Linked DNA regions of Homo sapiens: region 2 is linked to region 1. The links are contacts of gene promoters, found by promoter capture Hi-C in human tissues and cell types (Jung and others, 2019). All regions are on one chromosome and are shown on one strand. Each heading gives the region's core, a stretch centred on a gene start or on the middle of the fragment in contact. The rest is flanking DNA. Distances are from core to core; before and after follow the strand shown. Region 1 holds the start of PATE3 (prostate and testis expressed 3). Region 2 has its middle 7.9 kb from the start of PATE1.

The links. The method cuts DNA at HindIII sites, captures the fragments that hold promoters and counts their contacts. A contact is called where the count stands out against the background at its distance.
Region 2: a fragment that was not itself captured here is called in contact with the fragment with the promoter of PATE3 in region 1 in 2 of the 25 tissues and cell types used here (mesenchymal stem cells and mesendoderm cells).

What each region holds. Positions count from the first base shown.
Region 1 is chr11:125,786,245-125,790,137 of GRCh38, forward strand. PATE3 (prostate and testis expressed 3) reads left to right here and starts at 1,883. Exons shown (of 3, transcript NM_001129883.4): 1 at 1,883-1,956; 2 at 3,142-3,264. The coding sequence starts at 1,908. The HindIII fragment of the contact is 11,927 bases long and covers 1-3,893 here.
Region 2 is chr11:125,736,399-125,740,291 of GRCh38, forward strand. No RefSeq gene overlaps it. Among named protein-coding and RNA genes, the nearest start is that of PATE1, 7.9 kb to the right of the region's middle. The HindIII fragment of the contact is 3,360 bases long and covers 475-3,834 here.

The DNA.
Region 1 (3,893 bases), core at 633-3,132:
TTATCTAGTGATCAGGCACAGGTCTCCAGACTCTCAGGAAAATGCTATTTCCATTATGCCACACTACCTCTATTAATAGTTTCTAACACCTTCTTCTCTCCTACCCCATGATAAATGAAGAAAGAAATTATTTTCAAGAGAAAATGTGATGGATGAGGTACTGTGGGAGGCTGAGAAGTAGGTCAGAGGACTCCAACATTTGGGTAGAGTTGCAAAATTCTACAATCTTAACTGGAAATAATCAGTACAATGGAGATTCAAAACACAATTGGCCTTTCAGAAGGCATCTGCCAAGGAGAACCTTGAAGGAAGAAGAAAAAAACTCCACCACAGTTTAACCTAGAATGTCTGCTTCTTTTGCTCTGATTCTAGTGCTGCTCCCTCTCTCTATTTTCTTATGTTTTATATTTATTTTTATAGATTCAGGGAGTGCATACATAGGCTTATTATGTGGACAGATAGTCAAATGGTAAAGTTTGGGCATCTAGTGCACCCATCACCTGAAGAGTGAACATTATACCCAGCAGGTAATTTTTAAATAGAGGATAAAGCAGAGGAAACAAGTGACAAATGAAATACCCTAATAACTTGGTAAGTCCAGGCTGCAAAGGCTCAGAAGTTTGTCTTCTTGATAAGCCTGGGAATGTTCTCAAAAATGCTATCCAGTGTTCAACACCCTCTTCTAAAATATGGCAGAGTAGAAAACTAGATCCAAAGGCCTCACAACCTTACTCTCCATTCTGGAATCTATTATTTCAAAGGAACCAGCTCCCTCATGTGTAAGTGTCTAAGACTTCTTGCTCTCTTCTTAGGCAAAGGTGGGCTCCGTATTCTGTTTGTTCATAGAGAAGAAACATTGTAAATTTTGTGACACTTAACATAAGATCATATTTTACCCAATCTTCATCTGATGTCTAAAAAATGTCAGACTCAATATATTTCAATGATCATATCATTCCTACAACTAAAGAACATGTTGTTAAATCAGTTTAATATGGAATACTTCTAGTATCTCTAACCAAGCACCATCAGCCATTGGGCTGGTGGTTTAGGAGACTTAGAATGCCAGGAGTGGTCATGGTTTTCTAGTACTTTACCCATAGTGAATCTTAACTGAGTTAGCTTTCATAAAGATAGACATCTAAATCATGAACAAAAAACTAGCCAGATTCAAAATATAAATTTGCTAAAGATCAAGTCATGGAATAATTCTAGAGAGGATTTAATGGCTCTACAAAGTAAACAGTCGCTGGCCTTGAAGGACAGATTTCTTGTAAGTAGAAGAGTTCTCGACTGAGAATCAAACGTTCTAGTGGAAGGTCAAGCTTGGTCACAGACTATATATCTTTTCCTCTCTCACTCTCTGGTTTCTTACCCATAATGTGAGGAGCCAGGTGAGCTTGTCTGCCTTATTCATTGCTTGGTCTTACTCATGTAACTGTGTTGTATATACAATTTCTCAACAAATATTTGTTGAATGTATGAATAAATCTCAGAGAGGCATTGAATCACGGTGGTGAAACGTGGACTCTAGAATTAGGAAGTCATACTTTGAGTAACAGCACTATCTCACTGGATATGTGACCTGGGGTAAGCTTCTGGAACCTCAACAAGCCTCAGTTTCCTCCTCTTGAAATTGGGATAAGAATAATAATATCAAAAGTATATGTTTTTAAAAAGGTTAGCTCCATGCAAACCTCAACATTTATTAATTTTCTTTTTTCTCTGCCTTGAGGAGGACAGCCAATGAACTTGAGCTCCAAGAGGAAACCTTGTGTGACAGGCTCTCCCTAGGCATGAATAATCACTAGCCTCTGACGAAGAAGAAAGTTTTCTCTCTGGAGCCTAAAGACCTGTGCTTGCAGCCCCTAGCTTCTTTTTCCTGCACAAGGGATTTCCGGGTCAGGATGAACAAACACTTCTTGTTCCTCTTCCTCCTTTACTGCCTCATTGTGGGTGAGTCCTGGACCTGAGGGGTATACTTGAGAGACAGGATCTAGGGAGCTCCAGGGAAACTACATGTGTAGCATGCATCCATGCAGGGCTGAGCTTTGGCCACTTTTATGAGCCAGGGGAAGCCAGCCTCCAGAATGCTCCTCTGCCTTCCCTGACAACTCTTCCATCCTTTTCAGCCTCCTGCCATTCTCCTCCAGATGGGCAGGCCTCTGTCCTGCCCTTTTAACTCATTTTCTCCCTCTGTCCCTACCATTCCCCATAATCCCAAGCCCTGGCAAGATTTTCCTTAGGACATCCTTTTTATTTGTAAACCTATATCCCATTTGTTGATGGAGCTGGTCAGTCTATAATGAATAATTTTCAGTTTATTTTAGGAGTGAACAATGGCTTTTGATACCCTTTTCAGAGACTTTATATTACAACAAGTAATTCTATGAGAGGAAGTACTGAATGCTCTGGAATCAGACAGATTTTTTTCATGGTTTGTAGTCACGGTCTCAAAATCTCTGTACCTTTGGTTGCTCATTCAAGAAATGGGGACAATGGTGCCTGCTTACAAGGCTTTTGCGAGGATTAAATCGGATGCAACTTGAGAGAACATGGCCCAAATGGGATGCTCAATCATTGCTACTTTCCTTTCTCATTCAGGTGCACTAGGGAAATTTTTTTAAATTAAACCTGTATTTTGAATAGCTCACCCCGCAGAACCTCATAAAAGTGTCACTTATGGTACTATTATTGATGATGCCTTTATGTAGATTCAGATTGAAGCTCAAAAGAACAGAATATATCACCTAACAATAGTAACAATAGCTTTGGTGAAATGTTTTAAAGCCCTCACCCTCCTTATCACACCCATATCTCTAGTAGGCCAGGCTAGCATTCATAGCACCATTTTTAAGCTAGAGAAGTCAATGACATGGAGGCTAACTTTTTGCTTAAAGTTATCCAGGTTAAAAGGGCTGAAGGTGGGGTCAGAATCCTTTGGTGACATTTTCTTTTTATTACTCTGAAATGAGGAGTTGATAAGAGCTCCAACTGTTTACCGCCTAAATACCCCAACCAGTAGCTCTTCATCTGCCTGCCCCCTCCACTATTCATTCCCCACCTCCATCTGAATATTTCTAACTCCATCCCAAGTCCCTGCTTTTGCCTAGTCTCACACCATCTCTATGCTCTCTCCAGCAGTGACATCACTTCAGTGCATAACATGCCACCTTCGCACACGGACAGACCGCTGTAGAAGAGGCTTTGGTGTCTGTACTGCTCAGAAGGGCGAGGCATGCATGCTCTTAAGGATTTACCAGCGTAAGTTAGAGGGTCAGGGAAGGTGTTGTAAGATTCTTAGAATTCTTAGGATAGTGCTTCAGCAATTTCACATCTCAAGAGAAGAACCAATGCAGAATGCCCCTGAGCACAGGTGGTAGCACAGGTCCCTGTGCATACAGACAGAAGATAATTTGGGTCAATGAGACAGGAGGGAGAACTTGGGGATTCTATATTTCCAAGAAAACTGACCAAACAGATTTTTTTTTGATAATCGACACATAACAATTGTTCATATTTATGAGTATATGTGATTTTTCATACAAGCCTTCAATGTGTAATGATCAAATCAGGGTAACTGGATATTCATCACCTCAAACATTTATCATTTCTTTGTATTGAGAACATTCTATATGTTCTCTTCTAGCTATTTTGAAATATACAATAAAGAAAATATGGTATATACACACAATAGAATATTATTCAACCATAAAAATAAATGAAATTCTGTCCTTTGCAGAAACAGAGGTGAGCCTGGAGGTCATTATATTAAATGAAATAAGCCAGGCCCAGAAAGACAAATATCCCATGTTCTTAATCATGTATAGGAGCTAAAGAATAAGTTAATGTCATGGAGGTAGAGACTAGAGTGGTGGTTACCAAAGGCTGAG
Region 2 (3,893 bases), core at 905-3,404, 50 kb before region 1:
TCAGCAAAGTTGAAGGATACAAGATTAACAGGCAAAAATTAATTATATTTCTATACACTAGCAATGAACAATCTGAGAATAAATTTTTAAAGAAATATCCAATTAATAAGCATCAAAAAGAATAAAATAGTTATGAATAATGTTAACAGAAGTACAAGACTTTTACACTGAAAGCTACAAGTCACTGAAAGAAATTAAAACAGACAGAAATAAATGTAAATAAATTCTTTGTTCATGGATTGGAAGACTTAGCATTGTTAACATGGCAATATTCCCCAAAGCAATCTTGAGATTCAGTGCAATCCCTATCAAAACCTCAGTTTTTATTTTTGCAAAAATTGACAAACTGATACTAAAAATCATATGGAAATGCAAGGGCCTAGAATACCCAAAACAATCTGTCAAAAGGAGAGCAAATTTGAAGGACATACCCTTTTCCAATTTAAAAATATAGTACAAAGCTACATATAGTAACAAAAATAGTGTGGTGCTAGCATATGAATAGACTTTTAGATCAATGGAATAGAATTGAGAGTCTAAAAATAAATCTTTATATTATAGTCAATTGACTTTTGAAAACGGTGTTAAGACCATTCAATAGGGAAAATAGTCTTTTTAACAAATGATGCGAGGGAAACTGGATATGCACATGGGAAGGAATAAAGTTGGACTCCTGCTTTACACTATACACAAAATTAAGTTAAAGTGGATCAAAGGCCTAAATCTAAGAACTGTAACTATAACATTACTAGAAGAAAATATAGGCATAAATATTCATGGCACTGGATTAGATAATGGCCTTAGTTATGACCCTGAAAGCATAGCAACAGTAATAACAAAAAATAGATAAAATACACTTCATCAAAATAAAAAACTTTAGTATTATACTTCAAAAGGCACTATCGAGAAAATAGAAAACAAGTCACAGAATGGGAAAAAACATTTAGGTCCAGGAGAGCCTTTTCAAGGACTTCAATAGCAAGCCTGCCCCCACAAATCCTGCTAGAAAGCCTGCCTAGAATCTCTGGAAAGGCTAACTGATAAAGGGCTTTCCCTGTCAAAATCAGTCTGTAAAAACTAGAATAGGTGCTTACTTCTTCAAACGTTCAGATTTCAACATATGGCCAAATGGATTATGAATAATCAAGGAAACATGACACTACCAAAACAAAACAATAAAATAAAATATCAGTAACTGAGCCTAAAGAAAAAGGGATCTACGAACTGCCAAAGAATTCAAACTAATTATCTTAAAGAAACTCAATGAGTGACAACAGGACAAAAATAGATACTAAATAGAATCAGAAAAATAATACATGAACAAAATTAGGAGTTCAACAAAGAGATAGAAACCCCTAAAAAAAAGAACCAAATACATTCTAGAGCTAAAAACAGAATTACAGCATTACAAATTTTCACAGAAAGCTTTAACAGCAGAATCAATCCAGCAGAAGAATCAGTAAGCTTAAAGACAGGTTATTTGATATTACCTAGTCAGAGAAACAAAAAGAAAAAAGAATGAAAAAAAGTTTAGAAATCCTATGGGACTTATGGGATGCCACCAAGTAAACTGATATTATAGGAATTCCAGAGGAATGGAAAAAAAGAAATGAGCAGAAAGCTTATTTAAATAAACAATGACAGAAAATGTCCCAAATTCGAAGAGGAAAATGAACATTCAGATCCATGAAGCCCAAAAAATCAAAGTAATAGTAATCAAAACAGCACATTATTGCCATAAAAACAGACATTTAAATTGATGAAACAGAGTAGAGAGACCAGAAATAAATTCATGCATTTATAGTCAATTGATCTTTGACATAGATGCCAAGAACACAAAACAGGGAAAGGACAGTCTCTTCAATAAATGGTGTTGGGAGAACCAGATATTCACATGCAGAAGCATAAATTGAACCCTTTCTTACACTATATATTTTTTTTAAAACTCAAAATTCAGTAAAGACTTAATCATAAGACCTAAAACTGTAAAATTACCAGAAGAAATCAGAGGAAAAAATCTTCTTGACACTGGTCTGGGCAATTAATTTTGTGTATGATCCTAAAAGTACAGGCAATAAAAATAGACAAATGAGATTGCACCAAATGAAAATGCTTCTTTACTGCTAGGAAACAGCAGAGTAATGAGACAATCTACAAAATGGGAGAAAATATTTATAAAACATTTATACCTGACAAGGAGTTAACATCCAAAGTTTACAAGGAACTCAACTCAATAGCAAGAAAACAAACAACCTAATTAAAAATGAGCAAAAGAGCAGAATTGGTATTTCTCAAAAGAAGATATACGAATAACCAGAAAGTTATGAAAAAATGCTCAGCATCAGTAACCATCAGGGAAACGCCAATCAAAACAACAATGAGATATAACCTCACACTTTTATTAGAATTGCTATTATCAAAAAGACAAAAGGTAAGTTTTGGGGAGGATGTGGAGAAATGGGAACACTTGTGCACTGTTAGTGGGAATATAAATTAGTATGCTCATAATGGAAAACACTATGGAGGTTACTCACAAAATTAAAATAGAACTACCATATGTTCCAGAAATCCCTCTTTTGGGTACATATTCAAAGGAAATGAAATCAGTTTCTCAAAGAGATATCTGCACTTTCATGTTTATTGCAGCATTATTCACAGTAGATGAACTATCAAATCAACATAACTGTCCATTGAAAGGTGAATGGACAAAGAAACCGTGAGGCACATGCACACACACATACACACACAATGGAATACCCTTCAGCCTTAAAAAAAAGAAGAAAATTCTACCATTTGTGACAACATGAATGTATTTGAAGGATGTTATGCTAAATGAAGGAAGCCAGGCACAGAAAAACAAATACCACATGATCTCAATTATATGTGAAATCTTAAAAAGTTGAATTAGTAGAAGTGGAGAGTAGAATGATAGTTACCAGAGGCTGGCATGCTGAGGAGGAAAGGAATGGGGAGTTGTTGATTAAAGGGTACAAAGTTTCAAGTAAATAGGAGGAATAAGTTTTGAGATCTATTGCACAGCAAGGTGACTATATTCAACAATAATATTTTGTACATTTCAAAATAGCTAAGAGAGTAAATCTCAAATGTCTCGCTATAGAAAATAATAAGCAAGGTGATGTTAATTAGCTTGATTTGATCACCCCACATTGTATATATATTTCAAAACATCACACTGAACCCCACAAATGTATACAATTATGATTCATCAATTTAAAATAATATTAATAAAACATTAGTGTGAGGAAGGAGAAGGAAGAGAGAATATTAAAAATTACACTATGTTTTCAACTTCACATAAATAAGGAACAGGTAACTAGAAATAGTTGTGTATAAAATTGCAAACGCTTGTTTCTTGATATTACACTCAAGAATAATAAAACTTTTCTGACATGTACTAAAAAAAAAAAATGTTAAGCAAAAAATAAAAATAAAGACATAACAGTGGACTTAGTAAGTACTGCATAAATGTTATTTATAGTTTTTTAAATTTACGTATGTTTTGTGTACTTCGTATGTATTTGATATTTCTCAATGGAAAGAAGCACAAAATTAAAAGATATATGATAAGTTAGAGGTGTCAGTGGCTGGGACACTGCTACCCTTTGAACATGCCATGTTTTGCCAGTCTAATGAGTGTTTGTTGCTCCACACACTAGTTCTAGAGGCACTATATGAACACTCTAGTACTGAAAGCCATGCTGATTCTTTATGGCCATTTGTTATTGCCCCACAGCGTGATTTTAGTCCCTCTGTGTGAGGATGGAATGCTAATCAAAGCTTCAATAGAACAGAAGTTTGAACTCAAGTGACCTCATTCTTTTTTTCTCAAAACTGAAAATCTTCCCTAAGCTTCCATGATCAAAAAAGGAAAA